Regions from separate parts of the Homo sapiens genome. Here region 1 is linked to region 2. Evidence: promoter capture Hi-C in 16 types of primary human blood cells and fetal thymus (Javierre and others, 2016). All regions are on one chromosome and are shown on one strand. Each heading gives the region's core, a stretch centred on a gene start or on the middle of the fragment in contact. The rest is flanking DNA. Distances are from core to core; before and after follow the strand shown.

What was found. Contacts are between HindIII fragments. The CHiCAGO score rates a contact against its expected background, and 5 or more counts as called.
Region 1: a fragment that was not itself captured here is called in contact with the fragment with the promoter of AARS2 in region 2 in 1 of 17 cell types (total B cells); the score reaches 5.8 in total B cells.

What each region holds. Positions count from the first base shown.
Region 1 is chr6:42,219,489-42,223,052 of GRCh38, forward strand. No RefSeq gene overlaps it. Among named protein-coding and RNA genes, the nearest start is that of MRPS10, 3.4 kb to the left of the region's middle. The HindIII fragment of the contact is 1,952 bases long and covers 442-2,393 here.
Region 2 is chr6:44,311,821-44,315,412 of GRCh38, forward strand. It overlaps AARS2 (alanyl-tRNA synthetase 2, mitochondrial), which reads right to left and starts at 1,527. Exons shown (of 22, transcript NM_020745.4): 1 at 1,261-1,527; 2 at 252-443. The coding sequence starts at 1,503. It overlaps LOC124901322 (a long non-coding RNA gene), which reads left to right. Exons shown (of 3, transcript XR_007059594.1): 3 at 2,331-2,727. RefSeq lists an enhancer at 1,272-1,831. The HindIII fragment of the contact is 8,838 bases long and covers 1-3,592 here.

The sequences.
Region 1 (3,564 bases), core at 168-2,667, 2.1 Mb before region 2:
GAGCGAGACTCCGTCTCCAAAAAAAAAACTTATTCCATTTGTGCAAATCTTTAAAAATTTATTTTTATTTTTCCTTTTACTTTCTCCTCATCTTAAAGTCTGCTTCTATAATACTATATTGTCTTTTTTGTGTGTGTGTGTGAGACAGTGTCTCGCTCTGTTGCCCAGGCTGGAGAGCACTGGCTTGATCATAGCCCACTGCAGCCTCAAACTCCTGGGGTTAAGTGATCCTCACACCACAGCCTCTGGAGTATCTAAAACTACAGGTGTTTGCGACCATTTTTTATTTTATTTTTATTGTTTTGTAGAGACAGAGACTTGCTATGTTGCCCAGGCTGGTCTCAAACTCCTGGCTTCCAGCAATCCTCTCACCTTGGCCTCCCAAAGTGCTGGTTTTACAGGTATGAGCCACTGCACTTGGCCCATTTGTTCACATTTCTAAGCTTTATTTCCCCAAAGTGCTTTCACATATGCATTTTAGCCTAATGGAAAACTCTAGCCTTATAATCAGATCTGGTTTCTAATCCCAGGCTTACCAGTTAGTTGAGTGACTTTGAGCAAGTTACTTCCTTACCCTCAGCCTCAGTTTGCTCATATGTCAAAAAAAAAAAAAAAAAAAAGATAACAGTAGTTCCTGCTTCCAATAGTTGCTTGGGAATTCAATGCAATACCAATATATGGTGTTTAGTACAATACTGCCATGTAATGATACACTATAGATGTCATCCACTATTTGTGCCATTAAGTTTCTACCTCACCTGCCTCACAAGGTTGTTGAGAAGATTAAAAATAAAAAGATCAAGTTTATGAGAATATTTTATAGCATCCAAATAAAGAACTGTACAAATATAAAGTTGTTTTTTTTTTCTCCCCACAAATAGTTATTACTACCCTATTTTGCAGGCAAGAGAACCAAAGAAGAGGCAGAATGATTTGCCCAACATCACACCTATCTAGGAGATAGAAAAGGTCTAGGAGCAGAAACCAGTTTTCCTGCCCCTCAGGCTGGCCTCTGTTTACTAGAATTCAGTCCGTGTTGAGGTGTGGCAGAGATTCCAGTGTGGCCTTGCAACAGGGTATGGAAACAGCACACTTCACCTGTGTGCACTTCTTATTTATTTATTTTTGAGACGGAGTTTCACTCTTGTTGCCCAGCCTGGAGTGCAATGGCATGACCCTGGCTCACTGCAACCTCCACCTCCTGGGTTCAAGTGATTCTCCTACCTCAGCCTCCTGAGTAGCTGGGATTACAGGCATGCGCCACCACGCCCAGCTAATTTTTGTATTTTTAGTAGAGACGGAGTTTCTCCATGTTGACCAGGCTGGTCTCAATCTCTTGACCTCCTGATCCGCCCACCTTGGCCTCCCAAAGTGCTGGGATTACAGGCTTGAGCCACCACACCCGGCCTCACCTGTGTGCCCTTCTGCTGGACTCGGTGATGCCCCATGTTGGCAGGTTGCCCAGTGCCCTTCTCAGAATCAGTCTCTCTCTCTGAATTGTGACACTTAAGGGGATTTCTCTCAGCCAATGGGGTTTTCCAACAGCCTCCCCACTCCCAACTCTGTTCCTGCTTCCAAAGTTTGCATCGGTTTGTCCAAATGGCACTTCCGTGAGGCCCTTCACCCTGCCTCTGTCCCCTTTGAGTAGCCTCAGCTGGGTGAGTGTTCTGCAACTATAGTGCTTGCAAACGACTTTCACCTAAGTTACCTACTCTGATCCACACCAGAAGACATGGATTTTATCCTCATTTTATAGATGAGGAACCCAAGGTGAAATGACTCACTCAGGGTCATATGGTAAGTTAGTTACAGCTAAACCAATAACCATCTTAAAAGCAGTGCCTTTTCTACCTCTGCAGTGGGCTGGTGCTGATTCTATGATGAGGTTCGGTTCTATTTAAATCTCTTGGATAATAGGACTAGAAATACCCACCACCCTAGCACCACTCCAAAAGAAATAGGGGCTTATTTTTAAAGACCTGTGTGGTCTGGACAGCTCCTGGAACTGGAAAGGTATGCTTTAAACAGTCTTAGGGACTGGATACCCTCTTCACTCCTGAGGCCAAATGTGTTCTTTTTAATGATGGGCTTTCACTGCTTACCAATAGTTTCTGCTCCCTCAGGACTCTGCATGGCCACTGCTCTCTGCTTTTGGCTCATCAAGTTTCTCCATTCATACTCTCAAATGTGGAAATTTGATTTGGTTCTCTCATCTTCCTGGGCTGAGCCAAATGTGTCACCACACGGCCTAGGGGCCTAATGGTTTGGGATCAAGTGCCGACTTGCTAGGGCCTAGGTAGAACTCATTGTAAGGGGCAACATCAGGTTTTGCCCAGAGTAGGGCTGTGAACAGTGCTCTTTGGCATGAGGTGTGGGCAGGGACAGCGTTCTGAAGCTTGGCCTATCCGTTAAGGGTCTCTTTCCTACAGCCTAAACTTCCAGACACCCAACCTCATGTAGAGGAGCAGGAGTCCAATGATTCTAGATAGTTGATGCAAGTAAACCTTGCTTTATGTCCAGAAAAAATAAACATAGATACATCAAATATTTTACAGTTAATCATATTTTGATTGTGCCAGTTGTTCTGTTTTTAAAGACAGTCCTTTCCAAAAGATCCTCTCGTACATAAAGGAAGTAATCAGCTCTTTGGCTCCTTTTTTTATATTTATTTTTATTATTATTGTTTTTTTGAGACACAGTTTCACTCCTGTTGCCCAGGCTGGAGTGCAATGGCTTGATCTCGGTTCACTGCAACCTCTGCCTCTTGGGTCCAAGGGATTCTCCTGCCTCAGCCTCCCGAGTAGCTGGGATTACAGGCATGCGCCATTATGCCTGGCTAATTTTTGTATTTTTAGTAGAGACAGGGTTTCTCCATGTTGGTCAGGCTGGTCTCAAACTCCTGACCTCAGGTGATCTACCCGCCGCGGCCTCCCGAAGTGCTGGGATTACAGGAGTGAGCCATCACGACTGGCCCTTTGGCTCCTTTACACAGGGATATCTACAATTCAAAGATCACTTATGGTTCTCTTAGGAATATATTATTCAATTTCTTAAAATGTCTTCCTAATTATGCTTTGCTGTGTCAACATGAACTCTCATCCACATTCCTAGAGCACATCTCAGCTCGCTGGCGGTGGCTGAGGATGGTAGATAGGGAGTAAATGGAATTCAGGATTTACACACACATTCTCTCTCTGCCAAATGCACACATGGATGAGCGTACCTGGAGGACTGGCGAGTTAACTCATTGAACAAATAGTTGCTGAGCACCCGCTATAAATTGCTGTGTACATGTGGGTGATGGTGAGAGGATTCCGAATATTGATAGGTCTCTTCTCAATCCTGGAATTGAATCTGTTCCAAGGCCCCCATATGTCTTTCTAGGTATTAAATTCCTTGGCAGGAAGGAATCATGTACAGCCATCTTTATACACTCTCCTCCCCCTGTATAATACAGTATGGAATAATGGTGGCTCATGAGGATCGACTGACTGAATAAAAGTAGAAAAAAATCTTCCAATTAGGCCTCCAGAAGTAGACTTTAAATTTACAGCACTGGCTAAG
Region 2 (3,592 bases), core at 277-2,776:
AAGCACCTTAGCATTGCTGTTTGACCATTTATTCAAACAACAATTTTTGAGTGATCATTAGGCAGAAAGTACAGTCTCTGCCCTTCAGGGACTTACAATCCAATCAGGGAGGTGAGGTAATTCCTGTTACACCGGCTCAACTAGCACTTTGCCTCCACATCTGGTATGAGGCCCTGCCTAAGCAGACAGTACAATGGAAACAGGACAAATTGACTCCCTTCTTGGCTGATCACTGATCCCCAGAGACTCACCTTAAAATATTCACCCCCAAAGGCCCAATTGCCAAGCATTTCAAAGAAGGTATGATGGGAAAGGTCTCGACCCACATCTTCCAGGTCGTTATGGTGTCCTCCAGCTCTCACACATTTCTGGCTGTTGGCCACACGTCGGAAGCCTGCCATCTCGCTTCGTGGATCCACGGTGCCCAGAAAGATTGGCTTGAACTGGAAGCACATAGAGTGGGGAGGGGGAGAGGGATATCCAATTTCTCAGTAGAAGGGAAATGTGGGGAGTGAGGATAGGGATGGCTGTTCAGACCGAAGGCTGACTGTGCCCCTGAGAGTGCAGTGTAATCTTGGTCTATGAGGACAAACTGGGAGCCTCGGGACAGCCATCTCTGGTGTGTGGGGAGCAGAGAAGAGGTAAACAAATCATGAACCGGAGACCCTCTGCCTAGTAAAATAGGCAAGGTAAAAGAAGGAGGAATGTGTTGGGAGCTGGAAATGGGACGCTGAAAGGTGGCATCCTCCGTCTCAGCTTCTTCAACCACACCCAATAACTTCAGGGAACAAAACTGAGACTCATTTAGTAGGGAGCCCAGACGGCCTCTAAGGTTAACTTATGCCGCCCCTATTTTACAGATGAGGACAATGAAGTCTAGAAAAGATGAGTGGTTGATAAAAACCAAAACCTTAGAGAATAGTACTCAGCAAACAATAGGTGATCAATAAACATTTAATGAAAGCGTTATCTTTATTTAAATAACGAATAAATGAAATCAGACTTCTCCCTCGGGATTCCACTCCAGCCATTTCTGGACCTAATACTCAATCCCAATCCAGAAGTTCCCAGCTCAAGCCCTCCCCAAGCCCTCCCTATACTCTGAGCGCCGTACCCCCATCACTTTACCCAACCAAGCACCGCCCTCTTTCCCCAAAAGCTACGAACTCCGCCTCTCGCTTCTTTTGCCCAATCCTGCAGCGTCTTTCTCACCAGAAAACTCACGAACTCCGCTCCCTATCAGTATGGTTCGGCCCTCACCTGGTTCATGCCCGCATTGACAAAAAGCAAACTGGGGTCGCCGCGGGGCCGCACGGAAGCGGAGGGCACCAGCCGGTGGCCATGGCGGTCCCGAAAGAAGTTCAGAAAGGCGGCCCTCACGGCCGAGGCCTTGGCTGCAGGGGGCTCCGATGAGAGCGGCCGATGGCTGAGGCCCCGCCATGCGGGCGACCTTCGAATGGCCCGCCGCAGCCTCCGGGCTGCAGCTGCCACTGACGCTGCCATCGTAGCTCCGGGCAGTGACTTTACGTGGTCAAAGAGTGACGAGGGAAGGAAGCCAGGCGTTTCCTACAGCGGCCCCTGGCGGTAGGAGGACTCAGGGGGCGGCCTCTGCCGCCGGGGTGGAAGCGATCGATTGGGTCGCTGGCAGAGTCTAGCACAGCGCCCGGCACATAGTAGGCTCTTAATTCATTCGGCATTAAGCAAATATTCATTGAGAGCCTACTATGTGCTAGGCATTGTTTTGGGCTTTTAGGGTACAAAATTGACAAAATGCCCTGCCCACTGAAATCCGTATTCTAGCAGTAATTGCTGTTGTGCTTATTAGTTTTGCAAAGTTACAGATGGGGTTGCAATAAACAGGTGTGGATTCAACTTCGTGTGTGTGTGTGTGTGTGTGTGTGTGTGTTTTGTGTGTGTTTTTCCAGGCTGAGGGAAGAAGGCAGAGAGTGACAGGGGAGTATCAGCATTCATTCAAGAGGTATTCAACAAATATTTATTGAAGACCTAGTATGTGCTAGGCACTGTTCTAGGCATTTGCCAGTTTCCTTGGACCTTGGCATCAGACACGGCCATTTTTGCCCGTGAAGCAGGAGTCTATAGGAGAACACAGAAGCCAAACAGCATCTGCTATATTATTAATTGCCTAACATTTGGTCTTCTCATTTGCCTGGGGATCAGAGAGAATCCAGGTCGTCAAGGCAGGAGGAAGCTGTTGGCTAATAGCTGCAGAGATTTCACTCTCTAAGCCTTCTAATGCCCTAAGGTTTTGTGTGTTTTCGTTTAGGATAAGAGATATACCTGTTCTACCTCTCCCTTCTGTCTTTCCATAGTAACAGCTGTGACCCTGAAGCCAACAGGCCCTTGTGGATGCAATCAGGGTGCTCATGGGGCTTCTCATGATGCCCTTGGCTTGGGAAATTAAACAGATTGGGAAGACAGAAGAGAATCTGCCAAAGCTAAAACTCAATAGAGGTTCCAGAGCTGAGGTCAGTGTAATAACCGAGAAGGCCTTAGCCATCAGGGTGGTCTCTTTTAGCCACGATTCTGTGTGTGTTAAGTTATTTGGGGTCTTTGTATACATAGTTTCTCTGCGGAATCTACATTGGACTTGAATTTCTATAGTGATAGTAAATTCTTAACTTTGTGTTCTGACAGCACCTATAACTCCTATTCCATGATCCCCTTTTTCTCCCTTTGCCCACATAGATTAAAGGTGTTGTTTTGAAAGTGTGTTTGGCCTGTTTTGGTTTTTCCAGTGTTTCTGGAACAGAAAGCTAAAGCCAGCTGGGGATTTCTGTGTGATTAATGACTTTTTTATTTTTTTGAGATGGGGTTTCACTCTTGTTGTGCTGGCGTGCAATAGCACAATCTCGGCTCTCTGCAACCTCTGTCTCCCGGGTTCAAGCAATTATCCTGCCTTAGCCTCCTGAGTAGCTGGGATTACAGGCATGCATCACCACGCCCGGCTAATTTTGTATTTTTAGTAGAGATGGGGTTTCTCCATGTTGGTCAGGCTGGTCTTGAACTCCCGACCTCAGCTGACCTGCCTACCTCAGCCTTCCGAAGTGCTGGGATTACAGGCATGCACCACTGCGCCCAGCTGAGATTGATGATCTTTAGACAAGACTGTGAAATTATTTCCCAAACTGAGATGGGAGTGTTTTGCCATACAAACCTGGCAGGGCCTCTACTCAGTACTGACATCAACTTTTTTTTTTTCAGATTTTGCCCAGAAAGTCATTGTGTTACATTAGAAACTCCAAACATGGATCTAGTGTGGAGCCATATAATTTTTTTAAAACAGCTTTATTGAAATATAATTTACATGCTATACAATTCGCCCATTTAAATAAAGTATACAGTTCAATGCCTTTTAGTATATTTACATAGAGTTGCCCATCCATCACCACAATCACTTTTAGAACATTTTCATTACTTCCAAATAAAACCCCAAATCCTTTAGCCATTAACCCCCAATCGTCTCATCCTTCCTAGCCCTTGGCAACCACTAATCTACCTTCTGTCTCTACAGACTTGTATATTCTGGACATTTCATGTAAATGGAATCATGTAATATGTGGTTCTTTGTAAC